Regions from separate parts of the Homo sapiens genome. Here region 1 is linked to region 2. Evidence: promoter capture Hi-C in 16 types of primary human blood cells and fetal thymus (Javierre and others, 2016). All regions are on one chromosome and are shown on one strand. The core of a region is centred on a gene start or on the middle of the fragment in contact, and the rest is flanking DNA. Distances in the headings are between cores, read along the strand shown.

What was found. Contacts are between HindIII fragments. The CHiCAGO score rates a contact against its expected background, and 5 or more counts as called.
Region 1: a contact is called between the fragment with the promoter of SLX4 here and a fragment that was not itself captured in region 2, in 1 of 17 cell types (fetal thymus). The highest score is 5.5, in fetal thymus.

What each region holds. Positions count from the first base shown.
Region 1 is chr16:3,608,465-3,614,316 of GRCh38, reverse strand. SLX4 (SLX4 structure-specific endonuclease subunit) reads left to right here and starts at 2,711. Exons shown (of 15, transcript NM_032444.4): 1 at 2,711-2,757; 2 at 4,751-5,852. The coding sequence starts at 5,353. It also overlaps a transcript of DNASE1 not described here. RefSeq lists an enhancer at 2,394-2,463 and a silencer at 2,504-2,853. The HindIII fragment of the contact is 2,900 bases long and covers 2,324-5,223 here.
Region 2 is chr16:3,125,914-3,132,022 of GRCh38, reverse strand. It overlaps ZNF213-AS1 (ZNF213 antisense RNA 1), which reads left to right. Exons shown (of 6, transcript NR_110900.1): 3 at 1-4; 4 at 2,370-2,562; 5 at 2,713-2,775; 6 at 6,057-6,109. Among named protein-coding and RNA genes, the nearest start is that of ZNF213-AS1, 5.9 kb to the left of the region's middle. RefSeq lists silencers at 2,281-2,575, 2,327-2,584 and enhancers at 2,424-2,643, 3,781-4,331. The HindIII fragment of the contact is 2,090 bases long and covers 206-2,295 here.

The DNA of each region.
Region 1 (5,852 bases), core at 1,462-3,961, 480 kb before region 2:
CTTTGGGAGGTCCAGGCAGGAAGATCGCCCGCCTGATGTCAGGAGTTTGAGACCAGCCTGGCCAACATGGTGAAACCCCGTCTCTACTAGAAATACAAAAAATTACGCCGGGCGCGGTGGCTCACACCTGTAATCCCAGCACTCTGGGAGGCCAAGGCGGGCAGATCACGAGGTCAGGAAATCGAGACCATCCTGGCTAATATGGTGAAACCCCGTCTCTACTAAAAATACAAAAAATTAGCCAGGTGTGGTGGCGGGCGCCTGTAGTCCCAGGTATTCGGGAGACTGCGGCAGGAGAATGGCGTGAACCCGGGAAGCAGAGCTTGCAGTGAGCCGAGATCACACCACTGCATTCCAGCCTGGGCAACAGAGCGAGATTTTGTCCAAAAAAAAAAAAAAAAAAAAAAATTAGCCAGGCGCGGTTGCGGGCGCCTGTAATCCCAGCTACTCCGGAGGCTGAGGCAGGAGAATCGCTTGAACCAGGGAAGTGGAGGTTGCACACACCACTGCGCTCCAGCCTGGGCAACAAGAGCCAAACTCCGTCGAAAACGAAGCAAGGAAGGGAAGGAAGGAAAGAGAAATTATTTCAACAGCACTGGCCTCTCCATGTCGTCACTCAGTCTCCTCTATAAATTCAAGTCCCAAGACACCCTGCCCTACCCTTGCCTCTGGGCTGCTTATCATTCTTGTTCTGTCTTCTTTATCCAGTTGGAAACCATATTACAAACTAACTTAGATTTCCAAGCCAGAGAGCAAGTAAACACCTCCTAAATCCTTCATCAAGGAAAACCTCTTGGAAGGTTTTGAAGCTCAACATTCAGAATCAAATGTAGTCTTACCCAGTAATTCCACTCCTAGAACACAAAAACTTGTGTTATGAACACGAATGTTCATAGCAGCATTATTTCTAACAGCCAAAAAGTAAAAACATCCATATGCCCATCACCTGATACATGGATAAACAAAACATGGTCCATCCAAACACGTGATTATGCAGCCATGAAAAGGCATGCAGTACTGATTCATCTACATGGATGAAATCTTGAAAACATGCTTAATAAAAGCCCAGCAGAAAAAGCCAAGTATCACATGATCCCATTTACATAAAATGTACTGAATACGCAAAACCACAGAGACAGAAAGCCGATAAGTGATTGCCAGGGGATGGGGTCGGGGGAATTGCGGAGTGACTACGAATGGGTACGGCAGGTTCGATTTGGGGTTTTAAAACGTTCTGGAATTAGCGACGATGGCTGCAAATCCTGTGAACGTACTGGAAACCACTGAATGTACACTTCTAGTGTGCATTTTATGATACTGTATCTTTTAAAAAACATATTGTCTGCCCTGCAAACTGATTCCTTTACACCTCTCCTGTGTTCATTATTTCAGTGACTGGAGGCACACTACTCTCAGATGTTAAGGCCAGAAACCGGCAAATCGTTAACAACTGCGTCTTGACTATGCTCCATATTTCTCCATTCTTTTCGCTCCACCTCCTAATTCGGGCCGCTCTCACTTTTCATCTAGATTATGTAATAGCCTCCTAATGGGTGTCCTTGCCTCATCTGTTCTCACTGTAATTAGGCCTTTAAAAACAAAATCTTACGCCGGGCGTGGTGGCTCACGCCTGTAATCTCAGCGCTTTGGGAGGCCGAGGCGGGAGGATCTCTTGCGGCCAGGGCTCGAGACCAGCCTGGGCAACATAGTGAGACTCCCCCCCCCGCCCCCACCGCCCGTCTCTACTTAAAAAAAAAAAAAAAAAAAGCCGTGAGCGGTGGCTCACGCCTGTAATCCCACCACTTTGGGAGGCCGAGGCGGGCGGATCACCTGAGGTCAGGAGTTGGAGACCAGCCTGGGCAACAGAGTGAAACCTAGTCTCTACTAAAAACACAAAAATTAGCTGGGCGTGGTGACTGGCGCCTGTAATCCCAGCTACTTGGGAAGGTGAGGCACAAGAACCGCTCGAACCCGGGAGACAGAGGTTGCAGTGAGCCGAGATCGCGCCACTGCACCCCAGCCTGGGCAACAAGAGCAAAACCCCGTCTCAAAAAACAAACAACAAAAAACCTTCAATGGCTCCCGACGACCCCAAGTTGAAGCTCAAACCCTTAATACGATGTGTAAAGTCCCTCAAATACCAAGCCATGGCAAACCTCTGCTACCTTTCCCCCAGGCCCTGGCTGGCTTCACCCTAGCCCTGCGGAAGAGCTCGGGCATCCCCTCCAGGCACCTGAAGCGCGGCAGAATCCCCTCTTCACGTAGCTAACCCTCCCCGACCTCCAGGCCTCGACTCTCACGCCACCCCACCTGAGAGGAAGCTTCTCGGGCCCCCAGGCCAGATTTGGTGCCTCTCCCGGTCCCCCTCACACCGTCCACTCTCCGCTCCACAGGCAGGTATGCCCAGAGGGGGCCGCCGTTGTATCCGCGAACATTTCCTGAGCCAGCTGGGGAGGAACCAGACTTTATCTCACAGCTGCCACAGTGCCTTAAACTCGCCCTAACTCTTTCTCAAAAACTAACAGACTCCACCTGAAGCAAGCGCCGCTTCCGCCTCGCCCCGCCTCCTGCCGACCGGAAGCGCTGGCCGCCGCGGGCCCGCGCCCGGCGCCGCAGAGGAAGACCGGAAGCGAGGCTGCCGCACCACCGCGCGCGCCCGCTCTGCGCCTGCGCGCAGGCAATGCTCCGCGGGGGCGCGGGCGGCGCATGCGCAGGCGCGCGAGTCTCCGTTAAGAAGGTGCCGCGGCGGCGCCGGAGGTAGGAGGAGCCGGGCTGTGGGGCTGGGAGTCGGCACCCGGGAGGCGGAGGTCCTGTCATTTCGGGCCGTTCTCTCTTTCCTAAGGGAGAAGAGCCTTTCTCGCCCGTCTCCCTCGCTGGCTCCGTGGCCTCGGCAGGCCCGCAGCCCCGACGGAGAGGCAGGAGCCGCACTCGGGTGGAGAGGGGCCGGGGCCCGCCTGGAGGGAGGAGGGTGGCGGATCCGGATCCCCACGGTGGTCTCCGTCCGGGCCAGTCCGGGGATCGGGGTTCTCCGTCTGACTTTAGAGCCGTTAGAGTCTTTGGCAGCCCTTTTCCCAGACGGGGAACCCCTCAGCCCCTTTCCGTAGGTCGCCGGGTTGGGGGAAGCGGGAGGGTCCGCCCCTTACCGATCCATTCATTCATCCCTCGCCTGCTGTGAGCCGTGGGCTGCGGTAGGTACGAAGCAAGGAGGCACAAGTCCCCTTCCCTCTGGAAACCTGCAGGCTTGCAGGATCCGTTATGTCATTCAGTAAATCTTGACTGGGCACCTATAGGAGGAGATAGACTGTTGTGAGGTTCATATCAACAGAGATGCGGAGATCAACACAGTTGTGGAGGTGGAATTTGTTCCAGCCGCTCCCCGCATCCAACAGGATAAAATTCACTTTGCCTAGCCTGACCTTCCAGGCCCTTGTGAGCCAATCCTTTCCTCTCCCCGCAGCGTTTTCTCCTACACCTTTCTCTCTACTCCCATTATACCGAACTCTTTGCAATTCATGAATTCAACAAGTAGTTGTGGAGCACTTATTTCAAGTCAGGCACCAGATCAGCCAAAGAGGTTGCAAAGTAATAGATGGATCTCTACCCTCCTGAAGTGTTGAGCTTAATGGGGGACAGATAATAAGCCGATGAATAAAAACACAAGAGCGGATAGTTTCGAACCACACTTCCTGGGTTTGATCCCAGCCCTGCCACTGTGAAAGCTGTTCCTGAACTGGCTTTAGGCCAGTTCCTCATTCTGCTTGCGCGTGTTTCCTTGCCGTAAAGACAGGATGACAAGAGATTCCACCATATAGGCTTCTTGTAAGGATTAAACGAGTTTGACTTGGAAAGCAATTGGAACAGTGCTTGGCACACAGTAAGCATTCGATAGATATTACCTGTTTCATATGATGATAACCTATGACAGATGCCATTGTGAAAACAGTGGGCGATGATAGGGATTAACGGGGATGGAGACGGTCCATAAAGGATTAGAGGACACTTCTCTAAGGGGAAGACACAGAAGAGAATGCGCCAGCCATACAAAGTAGATTCTAGGTAGGAGTATTTTCAGCTCTGGAAAACAAAATGATTAATTAGATTCCTTGGACAGTGGAGATTGCATTATTGTATTTGAAAGGAATAACTTTCTGCCATTGGGTCATTCAGTTTTGATTTTTGAACCCCACTTAGCTGTGTGCCAAAGTAAACAACCATGCTCACGAGGCCCAGCCTTTGCACACAGGCGACATTCCAGTCATCCAGGTTTGGAGAGCCTTGCTGGGTTGAGAAGATAAGTAAAAGTGACCTTTTCTCTCCTGAGTGTTCATGAGAATATAATGTCTCTTTCTGTCTCTTATGTTGCAGTATTTACAGAAAGAGCCTCTTTAACAGCCAGGGGTCTTAGATCAGTGTAGGAGATAGTTTTCCTAGATTTGGGGATCATCCTGTTTCTGTGGTGACTGCCTTTTATGGGGTTTGCTCCCTAAATTTCAGTTAAGAAAACACTCTCCCAAGATGCACATATTTTAATACCTGTGGAAGAACAACATGCTTTGACAGGTTTCTAGGTCCTTTTGTTGTGATGTCTGATAGGACGGTTAGACCATGTTAACCAGGCTGGACTGAGTATTTGACAGTATTGTTACTCCGAAGACTTTTCCCTCACCCCACATGCCCTTGTCCCTCCCTGGAAGAACTGGCATAAAATGACAATGTCTGATTACACTTACATGCTTTTGGTTTTCCACAGATGTGTAATTAAGTGAACCATATATGTTTCATCATCATGGAGATCTTGGAGAATTATCTGAGCACCAGGTTCATATGTATTCGATCTCAGAGGCATCTATTGGACAACAAAACACTCTTTCAGTTGTGAACTTTATTTATTTATTATTATTATTTTTTGAGACAGAGTTTTGCTCTTGTTGCCCAGGTTAGAGTGCAGTGGCACGATCTCGGCTCACTGCAATCTCCGCCTCCCAGGTTCAAGCGATTCTCTTGCCTCTGCCTCCCGAGTAGCTGGGATTACAGGCATCTGCTACCACGCCTGGCCAATTTTTTGTATTTTCAGTTGAAACGAGGTTTCACCATATTGGCCAGGCTGGTCTCGAACTTCTGACCTCAGGTGATCCACCCCCCGCCTCGTCCTCCAAAAGAGCTGGGATTACAAGTGTGAGCCACCGCGCCCGGCCCAGTTGTGGACTTTAACAGAGGGAAGCTTTAAACATGTTTAACCACAGGCCCAATTTGAACAAAGATACTTCAATCATTATAGAGAGGAAAACAGTACTTTTTGTTCAATTGTGCAAACTCTCCAAGTATCTAATGGAGAAGTAGAGAAGAACCCTAATGAAACTGAGTGTGAATGAGGCTCAGCTAGGCTTCTACTTGGGTTCACTTTCTCATCTGTCTGCCTGTCCTGGGATTGACCCTCGCTCCTCTGAAGACCAGCCTGAAAGCCTTAAAACTGGTCAGATGATGGATGAGTCTGATGAGGACTTTAAAGAACTCTGCGCTAGCTTTTTCCAAAGGGTGAAAAAACATGGAATCAAGGAAGTGTCAGGAGAAAGGAAGACACAAAAGGCTGCCTCAAACGGCACTCAGATAAGAAGCAAATTGAAAAGGACCAAACAAACTGCTACCAAGACCAAAACCCTTCAAGGCCCTGCAGAGAAGAAACCTCCGTCTGGCAGCCAGGCCCCTAGGACTAAAAAGCAAAGGGTAACCAAATGGCAAGCAAGTGAACCGGCCCACTCTGTGAATGGGGAGGGGGGTGTGCTTGCCTCTGCTCCAGATCCACCTGTGCTCCGGGAAACAGCACAAAACACCCAGACGGGTAACCAGCAAGA
Region 2 (6,109 bases), core at 1-2,500:
CAAGGTGAGGACAGTGGAACTGAAGGCCGCTGGTTACCTCTCCTGCCCTCCGCTGGCCACAGTGGAGAAGACAGCCCCTCCCTCCTGCTCTGACCTGACAGTGTTCATCCATCGCCCTGTATTAGCGAAGAACAACATCAAGCTGGCTAGCAAGGAACTGTATACAGGGTCCAGCTGGGTATCACACTGGATCTCACCCAAAGCTTAGATGTGATCCAGCTCAGTATCACAAAGCAGAACGAAAAGGATGTGTTTGGGCTGAGAGGCCATACATTGGTAAGTGGCACATGAACTGTATTTTCTATTGAGCATTGCTGGTATATGGCAAATTTGCATAAAATTATATTGAAATTGACTACCGGATTGCACTTTCTTGTTCCTTCTGATAATTTTTCACGTGTTCTTTTTCTTTCTTACTTTAGATGGAGTCTTGCTCTGTCGCCCAGGCTGGAGTCCAGTGGCGCGATCTCGGTTCACTGCAAGCTCTGCCTCCCGAGTTCATGCCATTCTCCTGCCTCAGCCTCCTGAGTAGCTGGGACTACAGGCACCTGCCACCACGGCTGGCTAATTTTTTTTTTTTTTTTTTTGAAATGGAGTCTTGCTCTGTTGCCCAGGCTGGAGTGCAGTGGCGCGATCTCAGCTCACTGCAAACTCCGCCTCCCGAGTTCATGCCATTCTCTTGCCTCAGCCTCCCGAGTAGCTGGGACTACAGGAGCCCACCACCATGCCCGGCTAATTTTTTGTATTTTTAGTAGAGACGGGGTTTCACCATGTTAGCCAGCATGGTCTCTATCTCCTGACCTCGTGATCCACCTGCCTCGGCCTCTTTTTTATATTTTTAGTAGAGATTTCACTGTGTTAACCAGGATGGCCTCGCTCTCCTGACCTCATGATCTGCCCGCTTCAGCCTCCCAAAGTGCTGGGATTACAGGCGTGAGCCACCGCGCCCGGTTATTTGTTTATTTATTTATTTATTTTTTGAGACCGAGTCTTGCTCTGTAGCCCAGGCTGGAGTGCAGTGGCGCCATCTTGGCTCACTGCAACCTCCACCTCCCACATTGAAGCAGTTCTCCTGCCTCAGCCTCCCAAGTAACTGGGATTACAGGAGCACACCACCACATCTGGCTAATTTTTTGTATTTTTAGTAGAGATGGGGTTTCACCATGTTCGCTAGGCTGGTCTGAAACTCCTGACCTCATGATCCACCCGCCTTGGCCTCCCAAAGTGCTGGGATTACAGGCAATTCTGCTGCCTCAGCCTCCCAAGTAGCTGTGATTACAGGTGTGTGCCACCATGCCCGGCTAATTTTTGTATTTTTAGTAGAGACGAGGTTTTGCCATGTTGCCCAAGCTGGTCTCAAACTCCTGACCTCAAGTGATCTACCCGCCTTGGTCTCCTAAAGTGTTAAGATTACAGGCATGAGCCATCGGGACCGGCCCACTGTTTTTTCTCGCTAGAAAATACAGTCTAAAGTGGCCAGGTGCGGTGGCTCACGCCTGTAACCATCCTGGCTAACACGGTGAAACCCCAGCTCTACTAAAAATACAAAAAATAAGCCGGACGTGGTGGCAGGCACCTTGTCCCAGCTACTCGGCAGGCTGAGGCAGGAGAATGGCGTGAACCCAGGATGCGGAGGTTGCAGTGAGCTGAGAACACGCCACTGCACTCCAGTCTGGATGACAGAGCAATACTCCGTCTCACAAAAAAGAAAATATAGTCTATAAATAATGAAGAAAGTAAAGTGAACCTGGGAGGTGGAGGTTATAGTGAGCTGAGATCATGGCACTGCACTTCAGCCTGGGCAGCAGCAAGACTCCGTCTCAAAAAAAAAAAAAAAAAAGAAATATGCGAGCTGCTAAGCTAGGCAGTTCTGGCTCAAGATCTCTCATGATACTGCAGACACCACACCAACGAGGACCCCAGTCCTCTGGCACTGGAGGACCCACTTAGAAGGCGGATGACTCACGTGGCTCTTGGCAGGAGACCTCAGTTCCTCCCCACATAGGCCTCCCTATAGGACTGCTTGAGTGTCCCGTTTACCAAATGATCTAAATATGTTCCGGTTTTGATTGGCTGCTCTGCAATGTGGGCCGTTATCTAGCTGATTCGGTGGGGCCTGAAGTGTCAGTTCCTGCCGCAGGGATGTTATATGGAACCTTTGGCAGGCCGCTACAGACGAATCATAATATAAACCTGTGCTAGTTATTGATTACGTCCCAGCTCCTGCGTTGCCTGCTCTGTGAAATGGTTCTGGCCCTTTAGTTTTTCCTTTACCAGCTGGCATGATCTTAAGCTTTGTCAGTAGAGGGCGCTGGAGAGACATTGCAGGAGACGAGTTTCCCTTCCTGCTTCTGGTGTGTTCTCTCTAGGCTCCGGCATGACGGGTGACTTCTTCCGAGTCTGGCTTCTGCAGCACACAGGGCTTCGCCAGCACCCAGCTCCTGCAGCATGGGCAGCTCCTGTGACAGCAGGCGCCCGCAGCCTGCAAAGCGTCTCCAGTGCCGCCGCCTCAGTGAACCTCAACCAGCGGCACCTAGCAGCTTTCTCTGCCACCCTCTTCAGGTAGTTCTGTAGCAGCGCGTTTCTCATGAGACACTTCCCTGTGAGCAGCTTTTTCTACCCTTGAGGATGGATTTCCAGCAAATTCTGCCCATGTGGTACCACAGCCACTTCTCTGCCATTCAGTGAAACTGCCGTTGTGCCCTCTTCAAGGTCTGGATCTAAGCCCAGGGACCAGGAAACCTCTTGCTTGAGTGCTGGAACTCAGGCCAGAAGGTATGGCTGCTGCTATGTGCTGTGACCAGAGAATCAGAGTTCTCTTTACTTCTTACCAGCCAACCTCTTGAAAATGCCTTTTTGTTTTTTGTTTTTTTTTGAGACGGAGTCTCGCTCTGTTGCCCAGGCAGTGCAGTGGCTCACTGCAACCTCCGCCTCCTGAGTTCAAGTGATTCTCCTGCCTCAGCCTCACAAGTAGGTGGGATTACAGGCATGTGCCACCACGCCCAGCTAATTTTGTATTTTTAGTAGTGACGGGGTTTCTCCATGTTGGTCAGGTTGGTCTCAAACTCTCGACCTCAGGTGATCCACCTGTCTCAGCCTCCCAAAGTGCTGGGATTACAGACGTTAGCCAGAGCGCCCAGTCTAAGCCCTTTATAGCTTAATTCTATATATTAAATTTTCCCAGTTCAAATTACTGTGTGCTTCCCTTCTCCTGATTGGACCTTGCTTGATACAAAATTAGTACAAGGAGTGGTCTCAAGAGATAGATGCACAAAGAAGGGATATGGGGACGGATTTGGGTATTTGGGCTTGAGTGCAGACTGAGCTCCTTGACAATGAGAAATAGGATATGTATTAGGGTTCTCCAGAAACAGAATAACAGAATCTATATATACATGTGTATGTGTGTGTATATATATATATATAGAGAGAGAGAGAGAGAGCTTTTATGTGTGTGTATATGTATATATATAAACACACACACACTAAGGTATTGCCTCACATGATTATGGCAGTCGAGAAGCCCCACAATCTGCTATCTGCAAGCTGGAGACCCAAGGTCAGTGGTGCAGCATTTTTTTTTCAGATGGGGTCTCCCTCTGTTGCCCAGGCTGGACTGCAGTGGCACAATCACAGCTCACTGCAGCCTTGACTTCCCCAGCTCAAGCAAGCTTCCCATCTCAGCCTCCTGAACAGCTGGGACTACAGGTGGACACCACCATACCCAGCTAATTTGTTCTATATATATATTTTTATATAGAGATGGCCTCTCCCTGTATGTCCTAGGCTGATCTCGAACTCCCCTGGGCTCAAGCTATCCGCCTGCCTCCGCCTCCTAACAGTTTTGTAATTTTAAGGCCTGAGAGCCAAAGGCCAATGGTGTAGATTCCAATTCAAGACTCAAGGCCTGAGAATCAGGAGCACAAGACCAGGAGATCAATGTCCCAGTACCCAGGTCTCAAGTACTCAGGCACAGAGAGAATTCAGCCTTCCTCTGCCTTGCTGTTCTGTTTAATTCCATACGGATGGATGATGCCCACCCGTGGTGAGGGCCGTCTGCTTTACTCACTCAGCCAATTCAAACGTTAATCTCTTCTTGAGAAGCCCTCACAGACACACCCAGAAAGAATGTTTAAGCAGCTGTCTGGGCATGCCTTGGCCCAGTATAGTTTAACATGAAATTAACCATCACAGGGTGCTGGTTATCCACGGCTTGCAGCGATATCACAATTAATCAAGCAGCCACCTGCAGGTGATGATGAAGTGCCAATGAAAGCATGTACCTGGTGGGAACAAGTAGCTGCTGCACTCAGCCATTATGGTGTCCACAGATGTATAATGATGATTATACAACCATGGTATGGGATACATTATTTTTAGTGCACTTGAGCATTTACAGTGAGAAAATGACAAGCCCAAGTCCCTTAGCTCAGTTCAAGTCATGGTCTGAGAACCTGAGAACTTCTGTGATAGCTTAGAAGCAGCTCTTATAGCCACAATACTGTCACTGAAAATCAAACACAAAACTTAACTGTAGAGTCGCTGAATAATAATGACAGCTAAATTCCCAGGCCCAACAAATCTCACGTGAAGGTTACTGCGCTGATTGGTAAAGAAGGTGATCCTGGCCAGGCACAGTGGTGCAGTCCTGTAATCCCAGTTACTCGGGAGGCTGAGGCAGGAGAATCGCTTGAACCTGGGAGGTGAGGTTGCAGGGGGCCGAGATGGCGCCACTGCACTTCCAGACTGGGCGACAGAGCGAGACTCTATCAAAAAAACAAAACAAAACGAAAAAACAGAAGGTGATCCTGAAATTCAAAGTGGGGATATATGTTTGGACCCAGATGAAATTGACAGTCTTGATTCCTTAGGTCACTCTGAGCCTCCTTTACCAGTAGAAGTAGTTTGCCCTCAGTATCTGAATAGAATAGCCTTTCTCTGCTTGAAAACCTTAGGATAACCTTCCCAGGGGCAGAAGACCTAAAAGGGGATGTCCATTCTCCTGAAAACCCACCACAATTGCGCTCCATTGCCAGTAAACTCATAACAACTAGGGTCAAATCTCAACACAATCTATATATGTGTGTGTGTGGAGAGAGAGGCTGCACAAGCGTGTGCAAGAGACAGAGAGAGAGGGGAAAGATACACGTTATGACCCAGGAGGAAATAGCTTATACACTAAAATAATTCACTTTGCTGATATAAACTAGCAGAAACCTGGGGGATAGATGCAAGAGTAGATTCTAAGGATAGCATACCAAAGTGGACAGAATATAAAAAGAGATGAGATTAGACCGGGTGCAGTAGCTCATGCCTGTAGTCCCAGCACTTTAGGAGGCAGAGGCTGGAGGATCATCACTTGAGCCCAGGAGTTTGTTATCAGTTTGGGCAACATAGTTGAAACATAAAATACAAAAATTAGCGGGGTGTTGTGGTGAGCACCTATAGTCCCAGCTACTCAGAAAGCTGAGGTGGGAGGGTCGCTTGAGCCTGAGAGGTCAAGGCTGCAGTGAACTGTGATCATGCCACTGCACTTCAGCCTGCGTGACAGAACAAGACTCTGTCACACACACACACAAAATGAGAAATCAAATTCAATGATATAGGTGCATTTAGTAGACTTCAAATTTAATGTTAGCGTGTGTGGCTGTTGGTGGCTTTTTAGCAGTTTACTCCATTGGTTGGCTGAAATTTGGACTCATTGGTGGCCTTCAGTTAACAAGGTTGAGATGGCTGAAGTGGCATGACAGGAAAGAAGGAAACCAAAGGCTCCTTTTCCTTAGGGAGATGGAAATGTTGAGTGGCCTTATCATGCATGACCTGTGTACCCACCCCATCCCCAGCTATCTTTTACCAGTAGACACTGGCTTCACTAAGTCTCTGAGAAAGGCATTAATGACAGGATCACCTGAATCCTTGAAGAGCTCTGTGGTTGCTCTGTGAGATCTGTGTTCATCTCCATGACTAGCCTAGGGCTTTGTTAGTTGAGAACATAAAAATTGCTGTCTTAAGTTACTGAGGTGCAGGCCATTCATTGGGTGCTGCCTTTACACCAGGCAGGAAGCCCGCCTGACCCCATGTCTCAGGCTGCCAGAGGAGCGTGCGATGA